Regions from separate parts of the Homo sapiens genome. Here all the other regions are linked to region 1. The links are contacts of gene promoters, found by promoter capture Hi-C in blood cells and fetal thymus (Javierre and others, 2016). All regions are on one chromosome and are shown on one strand. Each heading gives the region's core, a stretch centred on a gene start or on the middle of the fragment in contact. The rest is flanking DNA. Distances are from core to core; before and after follow the strand shown.

Region 1 (4,771 bases), core at 892-3,391:
CAGTGGCCTGATCTCGACTCACTGCAAGCTCCGCCTCCCAGGTTCACGCCATTCTCCTGCCTTAGCTTCCCGAGTAGCTGGGACTTCAGGCGCCCGACACCATGCCCGGCTAATTTTTTGTATTTTCAGTAGAGACGGGATTTCACCGTGTTGGCCAGGATGGTGTCGATCTTCTGACCTTGTGATCCGCCCGCCTCGGCCTCCCAAAGTGCTGGAGTTACAGGCGTGAGCCACCGTGCCCGGCTGCCCACGTGTTTTTATATCAGATTAATTTACTCGGAGAAGAATGGCCTGGTTTTCATTTGCCTTCTATTTGGGCACCGTTATTGTTAATTTCAGTAACCAAAATGAAGGGAATAAAAAGGAAAGTAAGAGGTAAAAGCTTGTATTCCCAAACCAGAGAATCTACACTGAAATCAAAAGTCTAATGCTTTATTTTTTTGGCTAAACTTTGGTCCATTCTAAGTTGACCATACCTTCCCTGGTGAACAGAAAGAGAAGAAAAGAAAATAAAGAAATTTTAATTTTTAAGAAAGGTTTAAGGTTTTTGTTTTTGTTTTTGTTTTTTTTTTTTTTTTTGAAGGACTACACTTTAACAGATTTTCAATCTGTTGGATCAGCTTTTTTAGAATGTTATGCATTGCCACGCTATGCTTTTTGGGAAGAAGTCTCTTGAGTTTTTAAAGTAATCATAGTTCATCTTACCTTTTTCAAATAATCTGATCTATTTTTTGTGACAACTGCTATGTTGGGGGACCTAGTGAAGCCCAAGGTTTTCATGAATTACACCTCAATTCAGCCATCAGGATTAATATGTTTAAATTCCAGTTGGACAGCCCACTGTTAGCTGATACCTAATAGAAAATACCTGACTTCTAAGTCCCCCATCATGTCTCCCCTGTTTCAACAGCACTACCCTTATCTCTCAGCCAATCAGGCCATAAAGGGTTAAGATCACTAGTTTCCTTTTGAATATTAACATTTCACAATATTGTGTACATGTGTGCATGCCACTTACAGCACTGAACCCTATTGATCCTTACCTCTATGATCTTCCCTAATCTTCATTGCATCATGTCAATGACTAATCATGAGAGATCAGGCAGTCTGACTTCTAGGTCTGCATTTGGGACCTCTATGCTTTTCTGCCTCCATAATTATTTTGTTTATGCAATAAAATAAAATAATAAAATAGGAAAAGCAGGTTAAAATGCTGGCTCTGCAACACCAGCCTGAAAGGAATTGCGTCCGCCTCTCTGATGGAAAACAGCTTAGCAATTCGAATATATCACCCCAACAACCATCATCAAAAGAGAACCCTGGGACCTGCCATAAAGCAAATGCTTGGTGTGAATCAATGGATGGCTGAGTAAATAGCCAAAAGTGAACTGCAAGCAGCAGGAATGGATTTGAGAAAAATCAACAATTCAGCATGGCCCTCAGATACGGTGTGGGCCTTCCAAGGCCTGCGCGTGCTTGCTGCAGGGAAAGAGAGTAAACCAGAAGCCTAGTTTTGAAGGGGAACAGGTTACCTACTGGCACCAGCCTCTGTTGATTACACACCGCAAGAGCCTGGAGAGGAAGCAGGTGAATCCAGTTTTCTCTGTCTCTAAACACCTCAGTTTACCTAGCTCTATTGTGGGGGTCTTGCAATTTCAAGTTCCTTCTGTGATGATCCAAGAAATAATAGGTCTAGCAAGTGCTTTATGTAAACCAAAAAGTGCCGGCACAAGGTTGAGGAGGCAGCACTGACCAGGTGTGTCCAGGGTAAACTCTCTAGAGGAGCGTTTCATAAATTGAACGTGCATTGGGATCTCCTGGGAATTTTGATGAAATGAACATCCCGCTTCATGGGTCTGGAGTGGGGCCTCAGCGATGCTAACAAGCTTCCAGGTGATGCTGATGCTGCCGGTCCGCGGACCACACTCCGGAGTAGCAAGGGGCCAGAAGGGCCAAATCTGCCTGCGTGGAGGGAAGTCGGGGAGATGGGGAGAATGGAAAGAAGGACGGTAGAAGGGAAGCTGCTAGGAAGGAGAGATCGGTGCGGGGAGGAGGGGGGTTCCAAGAAGAAGGGGGAGGCTGCGGTGCTGGAGCGAGGATGCGCAGACCGAGGCAGGGAGGCGGGGGTGCGGGAGGCTCCGCGGCTGCGCGGGCGCGTGCTGGTGGCCTCGGCGGAGGCTCAGTCCCGGCCCGCGCCCGCGGCGCCCCCGCTGCGGCCCGAGCGGCCTGGCTGCGGGATCTGTGCGCACGGATGGCGCGGCCGCCCCGGCAGCACCCGGGGGTCTGGGCGTCGCTGCTCCTGCTGCTACTGACGGGGCCCGCCGCCTGCGCAGCCAGCCCCGCGGACGACGGTGCGGGCCCGGGGGGCCGGGGACCCCGGGGACGCGCGCGGGGGGACACGGGCGCCGACGAGGCGGTGCCGCGCCACGACTCCTCCTACGGCACCTTCGCGGGGGAGTTCTACGACCTGCGCTACCTGTCGGAGGAGGGTGAGGCTGCGGGAGGGCGAGGGGTTGCGGGAGGGGAGACCGGGGGTGGGGGACCGAGGATCGGGGGAACGAGGAGAGGGGGCGAGGGAGGGGGAGGGGGTCGGAAAAGATGTCCGTGGAGGCAGCTCTTGCAGAGGCGAGGCCAGGATGGGGAGCGCAGTGCCCAGGCCTCCGCCGGCCTGGAGGAAAGGCCCAAAGAGCTGTCAATGCCTGCCGCCCGCTTTACAGATGGGGAGAGTGAGGCTGGGAGAGGGAGGGGTCATCCAAGTTCTGCAAGGCTGTGGATAGGGGTGGGTGCTGAGTCTAAGCTCCCCCAGTTCTTAGATCTGGCTTCCACCTTTGCCGCCTGGGGTTGGGTTATAGGGGAGGAGGCCGCCATCTGGCCAGGGCAGCTAGGGGGAAGCAGAAAAACCCCAACCTAAAGAGAGAGGTTGCCTTATTTCCTCCCTGTCTGTATTGACTTAAATTTGCAGTGACCAGCGCCCACCTCGTAGCATTCTGTTCCTGCTCACTGACCCGTCAGAGCTGGGTCACATCAGCCTCCCCACTCCCATCCCTCCTCTTTTATGACGCCACATATGTTATGGTCCCCTAGTGCGAGCCACCATTGTTGTGGCCTGCTGGGCCCGCAGACTGGGAGTTTGTCAGCCAAGGGCCTCCCTGTAGAGCTGCTTCAACGAGCACAAAAGCCAAGCGGATGGTGGTCAGAAGGAATGGAAACTGGCCTCTTTAAGCAACTTTGGGAAGTAGTGACTTTCCTTTTCTTCTGCTAAGAGGGATATCCAACCATCAAGCTGGGGTTTGAAGTGTTGAGTCCCAGGAGCTCATATCTGTTAGTGGATGTGTCTGTTGTTAGGATTAAGTTCAGCTGTATACAACAAGCAAACATTAATAGCTTCAACAAGATAGAAGTTTCTCTCTTACAGAAAGAAAACTAGAAATAGGTAATCCAGAACTGGTCTGGAGGCTCCTTGGTCACCAGTGTCTCTGGATCCTGCCCTTCTGTTTCTTCACAATTCTTAGCATGTAACTTCATGGTTCAAAATAACTGCTTGAGCTACAGCCATTATGTTCACATTCTAGACAGTGGGAAAAATGAAGCAGGAAGAAGGTCACTGACTACTTTATAAAGGGATTACTCGGAAGTTTCATATAACAATTTTTATACTTCTTTGGCCACAACTTAATCATATGGTTGCACATAGGTACAAAGGAGGATGTAAAATAGAGCCTATTAGCTGAGACATAATATGCCCAGTTCAAAAATCAGAATTATTGTATTAAAGAAGATGGAGAGAATGGATTTGGGGAAATGTATTAAGTAGAGGCTTAACTGCTGAATTAGAGATTTTAACATATAGTGGTTTAAATAAGCTAGTTTATTTTTCTCTCTGATAAGAGTCTGGTTGGTCTGGGGCTGGTGGGATGACTCTGTTCCGCAAGGTCATTCAGGGACCCGGGTTCTTTCCATCTTGTTGCTCTGCCATCCCCCTGAGGCTTTGTCCTCATCAGTACAGTAGAAGCCAGGTTGCATGTCCTTGTTCAAGATTGAGGGAAAGAAAAAGAGAAGTTCAGGGCAAGTAGTTACCTTTTAGGCTGGCTGCCCACATTACTGCTGTTCACATTCCTTTGGCAAAAACATAGTTACAATGACCTAGCTTCAAGGGAGACTAAGAAATGTAGTCTTCTAGCTGGAGAGCCATGTGGCGGAATCTGTCACTCTGGAAAAGAATAAATATTCCGAAGCCCGTCTGTTTCTGAAAGCATCTAATGTATCTTTACACTGTACACAGCCTAGTGCTGCCAGGTGACTTAAATGTGGTATGTGAGAACTTGTATTCTGATTGGGCTCATGCATCTAACAAATGAAGGATAAGCTCAGATTCTGTACGTCCTTTGAGTCTCTCTGCAGAGAGAATGATATGTTCATTGTATAGTCCAGAAAGTTTTATGAATGTGGACATCAGGTGGGCCACAGCCATCAAGGACAGCTTTTATAGAGTCAAGCCATGAAGTAGGAAAGACTTCAGTGACACAGAAGAGGGAAGGCATTTAGGTGAGGTGATCACATAGCAGGCAGCAGGGCTTTGTACCGATCCCTAGTGTGTCTGCTTCGCGCCCCCACCATTCTGCACATAAAACTGGTTTAACCCTCCTGAAGTCTGCCTCTAACCTGTTGGCATTGCACTCAAAAGTCTGTGATGGGGCCGGGCGTGGTGCTTCACGACTGTAATCCCAGCACTTTGGGAGGCTGAGGTGGGTGGATCAGGAGGTCAGGAGTT
Region 2 (4,771 bases), core at 1,678-4,177, 300 kb after region 1:
AACATCAGAAATTATGGTGTATTTCTGTAAAGTTAGTGACACTGAGTGTGCCCACCTCTCTTGCCTCCTCTTTAACCTCCCCTACCTGTTTCATCTCTACCACCCCTGAGACAGCAAGACCAACCCCTCCACTTCCTCCTCTACTTCAGCCTACTCAACGTGGAGATGACAAAGATGAAGACCTTTATGATGATCCACTTCCATTTAATGAATAGTAAATATTGTTTTCTTTATGATTTTCTTAATATTTTCTTTTCTCTAGCTTACTTTATTGTAGGAATGTAGTATATAATACATATAACATACAAAACATTTGTTAACTGACTTTTTATGCTGCCAATACACTGCCGAACAACAGTAAGCTATTGGTACTTGAGTTTTGGAGATTCAGAAGTTAAACATGGGGCCAGGTGTGGTGGCTCACACCTGTAATCCCAGCACTTTGGGAGGCTGAGGTGGGTGGAACGAGACCAGGAGTTTTGAGAGTAGCCTGGGCAGCATGGTGAAACCTTGTCTCTACAGAAATTAGCCAGGTATGGTGGTGTACACTTGTAGTCCCAGCTACTTGGGAGGCTGAGGCAGGAGAATCGCTTGAACCCAGGGGGTCGAGGCTGCAGTGAGTCATGATCGTGCCACTGCACTCCAACCTGGGCAACAAAATGAGACCCTGTCTCAAAAAAAGAAAAAAAAAAGGTATATGCAGATTTTTGACTGTGCAGGGGGGTCCGCACCCATAACCCTACATTCAAGGATCAACTGTAATTTTTCATGCCTGCATGGCTCATATGTACAGATTTACTGCTGGAAGTTTATCATAAATAATGCTGAAAAAGAAAATCCTTATATATACATATTTTCTCCTATCTCTGCTTGCAGTATATGATTCCTGGTTAGAAAAGAAACTTAACAAATCTAAGTGAAAGAGTGCCTGGGAGTTTTAGGTTACAATGACAGAATCTTTTCCTAACCCTCTCTCTCCATTCACTTTTTTTAAAGCAGGGGCATCTTTATTGATCAACATGTTTGTCGAAGTTTCATCATAAAGTAGTTCCTGTCCATTAACTTCACTTACTGAATATGTGCTATCACATTTTGCTATTCCTTAAAAATTGAGCTAGACTTTACATATAGTGAAATGCAGAGATTTCAGGTGTACAATTTGATGAGTTTTAATAAATGTATACAGCCATGTGACTGCTGCCACCACCCCTCCCACCAGTTTGAAATACAGAACATTCTTCCACTTTGAATCACTGGGTGAGCATGCCTGAGGTTGAAATGCAGTCCCTCCTCTCAGGGCGGGGCCTCCAGGTTGTGTTTGCTCTGACCTGGAGGTTGCAGGGGTAGCAGACACATGAACTCTGGCTCTGATGGTCTTATTGCTGCAAACTCCACCTGCCTAGTTTGTTTAGTTTAGAGTTACTGCCTCAGCGCCCTCCAACAAGAGTATGTCTGTCACAATTTCCCTTCCTTTCTTGCTTTTAGATGCTGAGCTTTTTATACCACCAAAGATCAACAGAAGAACCCAGTGGAAGCTGAGCCTGCTAGACTGAGTGACTGCAGTTAGGAGGGATCCGACAGAGAAGACCATTTCCACTCATTCCTGTTGTCCTACCACCCCTTGCTCTTTGAGGGCTGGCTATTGAGAACTGGAAAGAGTAAAATGATAACTTACCTTAGCATTGCCAAGAACTTCAGCAGACAACAAGCAATTCTATTTATTTTATGTTGTGTATACATCTTGATCATTAGCAAGACATTAAGCTTTAACCATTATGGCACCATTTTGTGAGAATGATTGTTCTTTCACTTGGGCTGTTTGAGAGCATAATTATGGTAATCATGAGATTAATGTTTCATGATTTCTACCTCCAAAGTGTGAAGACAAGTAAAACAATGTTTCTAAATTGTCTTATTTTGTTGGCGGAGAAGATTACAATGGCTATTAGTGCTACATTTGGTCAAATGTAATCACTTAAATAGCTTCTTGTCACCTTAAACTAAAGCAGAATAAAAAGTATCCTTTGAAATTATAAGCCCTCCTTTGCTGACAGCTATTATTTTGTAACATCTTACCAGGTCATGTGCTTTCAGTTATAACTGGGCTGAGCCTCCTATAATTACAATGTCTATAGGGACTGTTTTACTGCCTGTGTATTTTCTGCTAGAGAGTTAGCAATGTTAGAGCTAGAACAGATTAGAATTTCTAAACAGTATCATGCACAGTTGGTGTGAGTGATCAGTGTGCATTGTATGGCATGCATGGTTGTGAATTATTCTCTGTTCTCCAAATACTGTTTCTTTAACTCAGATATTTTTGTTAGTGTCTAGGCCACTTCATTTATTTTTCGTCATGGTACTTTACTGACTTCTCTTTATTCAATTCTCCACGCCCTCACCAAAAAAAACTGTCTCAAAATGAGAATATTTTATTTTCATGGTGAGTCTAGAAAACGCCCACTTCATTCTGATTAAAAATTCTTCCATGTTTTAAATATCAGAACCAGACCTTTCTTACTGTGTATCTTAGCCCATTTGTGTCTCTATAACAACAACCAGCTTTCAAAGGAACTAATAGAGTGAAAACTCACTCATTACCACGAGGATGGCACAAGCGATTCACGTAGGATCTGCCCCTGTGACCAAAACACCTCCCATTGGGCCCCACTTCCAACACTGGTGATCACATTTCAACATGAGGTTTAGGGAAACAAATGCCTAAACTACAGCACTGTACATAAACTAACAGGAAATGCTGCTTTTGATCCTCAAAGAAGTGATATAGCCAAAATTGTAATTTAAGAAGCCTTTCCCAGTATAGCAAGATGTTAACTATAGAATCAATCTAGGAGTATTCACTGTAAAATTCAACTTTTCTGTATGTTTGAACATTTTCACAATCTCATAGGAGTTTTTAAAAAGAAGAGAAAGAAGATATACTTTGCTTTGGAGAAATCTACTTTTTGACTTACATGGGTTTGCTGTAATTAAGTGCCCAATATTGAAAGGCTGCAAGTACTTTGTAATCACTCTTTGGCATGGGTAAATAAGCATGGTAACTTATATTGAAATATAGTGCTCTTGCTTTGGATAACTGTAAAGGGACCCATGCTGATAGACTGGAAATAGAAGTAAATGTGTTTATTGATAATGGTGTGAATTTTCCTGGACATTCAGTTTCCTTAAATAATGTATTGAAGCAGCAAGAAATAATTTGTTTGAATGCAAATTACTATCAATTACTGTTTCTCTCATCTGAGCAGGATTGGATTTTGTTCCTTTTTAGAAGAAGCAGGCAGGAGGAGACCTTCCAAATTGAGGCAAAGCCAAGAATTGAATATTCATGGGGGAAAATTGAGTGTATGAGAAAAGGAGGAAACTCCTCTGAGTGATGAATGCTTAATTTGGGGGAAAGAGTCTGTCAAGTTTTAGAAAAGAGTACATAAATTTGGATCCTGTCCCAAAGCAAGTTCATGCTGCAATAAGCTAAAACCTTCACTTTTCTTGGTTCCATTGAGTCAGATAGCTTTGCTCAGATGCTCTAAACTTCAAGAAGGAACTTGCAGAAGACTGTCTTCTTCGGTCAAAGTGCATTTTAAATTTATGCTTTTGAAAAAACTGAGGCCGGGTGCGGTGGATCACACCTGTAATCCCAGCACTTTGGGAGGCTGAGGTGTTTGAGACCAGCCTAGCCAACATGGTGAAATCTCACCTTTACTAAAAATAGAAAAAAAATTAGGCGGTGTGGTGGTGGGCACCTGTGATCCCAGCTACTTGGGAGGCTGAGGCAGGAGAATCACTTGAACCTGGGAAGGTGGAGGTTGCAGTGAGCCAAGATCGTGCCACTGTACATCAGCCTGGACAAGAACAAGACTCTGTCTCAAAAAAACAAAACAAAACAAAACAAAACTTAGGAGCAATTTTTATATGCCTTTATGGATGTAGCTTGGTGCAATTTCTTAGCCCTGCTGCATATTTTAAATTAAATTTAATTATATATGCATGTATATATACATACACATTTGAGAGATTTGTCATAGCAATAGCTGAAGTGGGTGTTTTTAAAAATAAGTAAAACTGATGAAGCTTGGTAACTTAAGGTGACTGCAAATTTGAGAAGCAAAATTAGATTTGTTCTTCCTCTTGTGCTGGTTATTGTACTCCCATATTCTCTAGAAGCACCGCCTGGACAAGCCCTGGGGAGTCTTTGGCTGTTGTTTCTTGTTTGTTGTATTTATTAGTAACTGGGTGCAAATAAACATCTTAGGAGCTAGGTAGCTGTACATATTCACGAGGCTGGAGATAAGACAAAGCTAATTTGGTAACATTTGGCAGTGCTGAAGGCCTGCTTTGGATTCTCGTGTTTCTGTGCTCTCTGTGCTCCCTGAGCCCTTGCCTGTGCCTGCAGTGGGCTGCTCCACCACTATTCTTACTGGCTCTACAGTCCCAGGACATTTAGGAACAACAGTTGTCCTCCTGGTTATAAAGGAAAGAACAAGGCTTTGGGCCATGTGTCCAACCATCTTAGCAGTGTTGGACAAAGTCACTTAATCTCACTGAGCCTTGCTTTCCTTCAGTCTTGTGTGTGCCCATCAAGCTAAGCAGAGTTTCTCAATGGCACTGTTGTCATTTTGGTTCATGTCATTCTTTCTTTGGGTGTTGGGAGGTGCTTCCCTGCACATTGTAAGATGTTTAACGACTTCCCTCATCTCTAACCCCTAGATGCCAGTAGTACACACTCCCACCCCTGTTATGACAACCACAAATATCT
Region 3 (4,771 bases), core at 560-3,059, 260 kb after region 1:
TATATGTTATAATTGATTTTAATAACTGTCAAGCATAATTAGAGTGGCTAATTCTCATGGGCTAATGTGATGGGAAGAAATTTTGTATAAATGCAGTCATGCGCATATATGTGTGTGTGTGTGTGTGTGTGTGTGTGTGTATACATACCTTTTCTATGTTTAGATACACAAATACTTGACATGGTATTACAATTGCCTGTAGTATTCTGTAAAGTAACATGCTGTCCAGGTTTGTAGCCTGGTAGCAATAGGCCATACCCCATAGGCTAGGGGTGTAGTAGGCTACACCACCTAGGTTTGTGTAAGTACTCTATGATGTTTGCACAATGATGAAATCACCTAACAACACATTTCTCAGACGTATCCCCATCGTTAAATGATGCATAATTGCACATATATGCTTTGTTTTGATGTGGTGACTTCAAAATGCTTCTTCCAGCCTCCTCTTCTATATATCCTATTTTGTACCTGACTACATTTACCATTAGAAAGTCTCTATTCTTCTTTGCTGAAATTTCACTGTTCTCTGGGCCTGAGTTTTGTTTTGATTCCTGACTATATCTTCATTATGTAACAGGTTTCAGTTAATGAATGCTCTTCTGTGTAATGTAAGCCCTGTTGTATAGTTGATAGCATTTTCTAGCCAGTTCCCAGAACTCCTTGTTTCCAGTGTCAATACTTGGCACCTTTGTCCACTGACACTAATCCCCAGATTAATTTGTAATTAAAGCCCTACTGGTGAGATTTCTGAGAAACGTTGTTGCAAAATTAGGAACCTTTCCTTTATATATATACATTACATAAATTTATAGACATAAAACATTTTAATGCAGTCATTTGCTGCTACTCTTTGACTCATAGTCTTTCGTGATATTTTGAAAAAGCCTTTTGTTAACATGTCTAAATGCAGAATATGTTCTAGAAATATGTAGCACTTAAAGTAAGCCATTAGATTACCTTTTGAAAAGCGGAGCAATTTACTAAGTTTCTACTTCTTCAGATTTGAAATTCTTCATCATTAGCTTGTAGAGGCAAAAGCTTGATGCAGTCATCTCATTTGCTGTAAAGGAAATGAGAAGTCATTTACAGTATATTTCTACTGCTTTGACTTTTATTTCTCAAAAAGACTGTTTTGTTCATATAAAATATTAATGCTTTTGAGGACTACAAAGTCCCTCGATTTAGTTTACATTTACTTTAGCTTATACTTTGTAAAAAATACTCTTCTAAATGCTTTGTCTGTTTTAGCTTACTTATTTCTCATAATACCTCTGTAAAGTATATGCCATTTGCACCATCATTTTACAGATGAGACAACTAAGACATGGAGCAGTTAGATAACTTGCCTGAGATCATGCAGGTGGAGCCAGGATCAAATCCCAGCGAGTCTAGCTCCAGAGTTTGTTCTCTTCTTGACAGATAATTTATCCTCACAAAATTTGAAGCATTTGTAGAGGAATTCCCTATTGTTATAATGTTTAGTTTTTTTGTAGATTGGTTAAAAACTTTGAATTAAATGTTAGCATTAACATCATTTGCTTTTATCACTACTTCTTTGTCTCTTTTTTCTTTTTTTAATCACTACCTCTTCCTCCTCTTTTGAGAAATTCTGCTTCCGTGGCTATGGTCCAAGCTACTTGAGAAGGTGAGGTGGGAGGATCACTTGAGCCTAGGAGGTTGAGATTGCGGTGAGCTGTGATTGTGTCAACTGCATTTCAACCTGGGCAACAGAGCAAGACACTGTCCAAAAAAAAAAAAAAAAATAGTGAAATTTTACTTCGCTCCATTGACTCAGGGAAAAAATGTAATGGTGATAACAAATTCCCTTCATCTCATTAGTGAAAATCCACAATTTTCCATCAATCGATATGATAGTGATAGAGATATTGAGTGTGCTCATTTTCCTACAGACCAGCTGCTTTAACTATTTTAAGCAGACAGAAATGATATTGGTACCATCCATGTCTAATGAAGGCAATACTTTGTAATAAGTTGCAGTAAGTTGTGGCCAGAAGAGGAATGATGACTTCACAGTGTAAACAACTACCTTATTGGGTTTGTGGAAAATGGTGTCATGTAGCAGATGTGGCTTTATCTGGGCTTTGGTTTGGAGTAGTTTTATCTATTCATCTAACCGTCTGTCTCTAAGTGTATAAGTGTGTGTGTGTGTGTGTGTGTGTGTGTATAGTATTGGGTGTGTATATATGTATTTTGTCTACATTGTATTGAAGTAGGTAGTGCAGCATCAAAAGGAAATTGTTGATTTTCAAAATCAGTGAAATGTCACTATTTTTGAGAAAAATGGTCTGTTTACACTCCCTTCTCCTTTTTTTTGTCAGTTCATCTGCAGCGGTGGATGGGGTCATAATCAGTCTATGTTGCAATTCCAAGACCAAGTCAGTAGTATTACAGCTGGCTGATGGCCAGATATTTAAGTACCTTTGGGGTGAGTATCAAGGTGTTAGGAAAGCATGTTATGACTTACATAGATGCTTAGTTCTTAAGAACATGTACTTGTATCTTGTCAGTTCAATATTGATTGTCAGGTCTTTTAACTACCCTGGAAAACCCTAAGCTTTAGAGTGGAATTGGCAAGTGTATTCTACTCCTGTTTCCTCTTTTAATGAACTAACGTACTCTTAAAAAAGTGATTGATGACTATCGCAGGGACAAAAAACCAAACACCGCATGTTCTCACTCATAGGTGGGAACTGAACAGTGAGAACACTTGGACACAGGAAGGAGAACATCACACACCTGGGCCTGTCGTGGGGTGGGGGAGGGTGGAGGGATAGCATTAGGAGATATACCTAATGTAAATGACAAGTTAATGGGTGCAGCACACCAACATGGCACATGTATACATATGTAACAAACCTGCACATTGTGCACATGTACCCTAGAACTTAAAGTATAATAAAAATATATATATAAATAAATAATGCCAGCATTAGAGAAAAAAAGTGATTGAAATTGCATGTTAAGTGTTTTAGCAAATGTTGATGTTGATGGTTTTTTGCAAAGAGCGCATCAGCTATTTGTGAACTAGATCTGTGAATCTTGCAGAGTCACCTTCTCTGGCTATTAAACCATGGAAGAACTCTGGTGGATTTCCTGTTCGGTTTCCTTATCCATGCACCCAGACCGAATTGGCCATGATTGGAGAAGAGGTAGGTGAACACGGAGCAGGAAATTTACTTAAAGTAGTTACCCAGGGACTGATGGCATTAAGTAGAAAGAGCGTGGGCTTTGGAGGTGGACTTGGGTCTCCACTAAATGCCTAGACAATAGTGGGAAATGATCTCACTTTCATAAGCCACACCTTATTCATCTATAAAATGGGAAAATCAGTATCTGTCTATCAGGGTTCAGAAGACTAAATGAGATAATATATGTGATTAGCAACCTTTTATCCCTAGTTGTACAAATCATTCAAAGTTAATTTTATTTAGGAGGGGAAACAGAAATGTGATCTTGAGAATAGTTTTAGTAGATTTTTATTCAACACATACTAGAATGCCTATAATTGTGGTGGATGGTAGAATGCAGTGGCTGGAAAACAAAACCGCTTGACTAATTCCTGCTCTTCTGGAACTTGTGATCTATTAATTTCAATGTAATGATTCCCTTTGTTGGGAGTGTGATGGAAATGGACAGAGTATACTGGTAGAGAATACTGAGATGTTTGAGGGGTAATTTGAGGATGGTGGCTATGAGAATGGGAGTCCTGCATCTGGTGGTCCAGGAAGGCCTCTCGGAGGCAGTGATGTGTGTGCTGAGATGTGAAGAAAAAGAAGGCTCTGTCTCCAGGCAGAAGGAACAACAAACTCCTTGAGCTTAGCAAGAGCTCATCTTATTCAAGGGACTGGATGGAAGTATTGTGGCTGGAGCTCAGTGACAGTCATAGGAGGGAATTTGGGTTCTTTAATTGAACAAAGATTAGAAACTTCTTGTGATTTTTAATAACAGAGTAATGTGTTCTGCTTCATGGTTTGGACAGTGATTCTGGCTGCCCAGAAGAGACTTGATTGGAGAGTGACGAGACTGGAATATGGGATCAACACCGGTTGAGTGGAGTTAGTGAGGGGAAAAAGGAGATGGGTTTGAGATATGTGTAGGAGATGGAGATGTCAGGGCTCACTGATGGATTGGATGGCTTCACATTCCATTTTGCACTGGACCAGCCACGTCTTAGGTATCTATCTTTAGTCCTGATTACAGGAACTTAGGTGTGAAATCATAGGGTGGTAGAACTATGTGATAGAAAAGGTAGGTTTAACTGATTTGAGATAGAATTGCTTGTGATTTCAGTTTTATTTCTTTGCAGGAATGTGTCCTTGGTCTGACTGACAGGTGTCGCTTTTTCATCAATGACATTGAGGTATCAAGGCTTGGTTTGGTGTTGGATCCTTTTCACAGTGTTAGCTCCGAGTAATCTAGCTAGCTTTCACCCATGCCTCTCTGGCCTTCTCTTGCAGGTTGCGTCAAATATCACGTCATTTGCAGTATATGATGAGTTTTTATTGTTGACAACCCATTCCCATACCTGCCAGTGTTTTTGCCTGAGGGATGCTTCATTTAAAAGTAAGTTTTCAATGTATAAAACAGAAATGGTCCCTTCTCCAATGTCTTTTGGAGTCTTGATGACTTTTTGAATTCTTCATTTATTTTGGCTTTTTATCAAGGAGTCCTAGGCTGGAGAAAATCTTTAGAGTTATTTTACTTAGACCCTAATCTCAACATAATATCTCAGTTAAATCATTCTGCACTT

The links. The method cuts DNA at HindIII sites, captures the fragments that hold promoters and counts their contacts. A CHiCAGO score of 5 or more calls a contact.
Region 2: a fragment that was not itself captured here is called in contact with the fragment with the promoter of FRRS1L in region 1 in 4 of 17 cell types (non-activated CD4 T cells, naive CD8 T cells, naive CD4 T cells and 1 more); the score reaches 6.0 in non-activated CD4 T cells.
Region 3: a fragment that was not itself captured here is called in contact with the fragment with the promoter of FRRS1L in region 1 in 2 of 17 cell types (activated CD4 T cells and naive CD4 T cells); the score reaches 5.6 in activated CD4 T cells.

What each region holds. Positions count from the first base shown.
Region 1 is chr9:109,164,619-109,169,389 of GRCh38, reverse strand. It overlaps FRRS1L (ferric chelate reductase 1 like), which reads left to right and starts at 2,141. Exons shown (of 5, transcript NM_014334.4): 1 at 2,141-2,489. The coding sequence starts at 2,252. The HindIII fragment of the contact is 4,411 bases long and covers 1,889-4,771 here.
Region 2 is chr9:108,865,897-108,870,667 of GRCh38, reverse strand. It overlaps ELP1 (elongator acetyltransferase complex subunit 1), which reads left to right. Exons shown (of 37, transcript NM_003640.5): 37 at 1,486-3,151. The coding sequence ends at 1,553. Among named protein-coding and RNA genes, the nearest start is that of ACTL7A, 6.0 kb to the right of the region's middle. The HindIII fragment of the contact is 2,322 bases long and covers 1,767-4,088 here.
Region 3 is chr9:108,901,238-108,906,008 of GRCh38, reverse strand. ELP1 (elongator acetyltransferase complex subunit 1) reads left to right here. Exons shown (of 37, transcript NM_003640.5): 15 at 2,340-2,446; 16 at 3,067-3,170; 17 at 4,328-4,381; 18 at 4,479-4,584. Among named protein-coding and RNA genes, the nearest start is that of ELP1, 31 kb to the left of the region's middle. The HindIII fragment of the contact is 1,537 bases long and covers 1,041-2,577 here.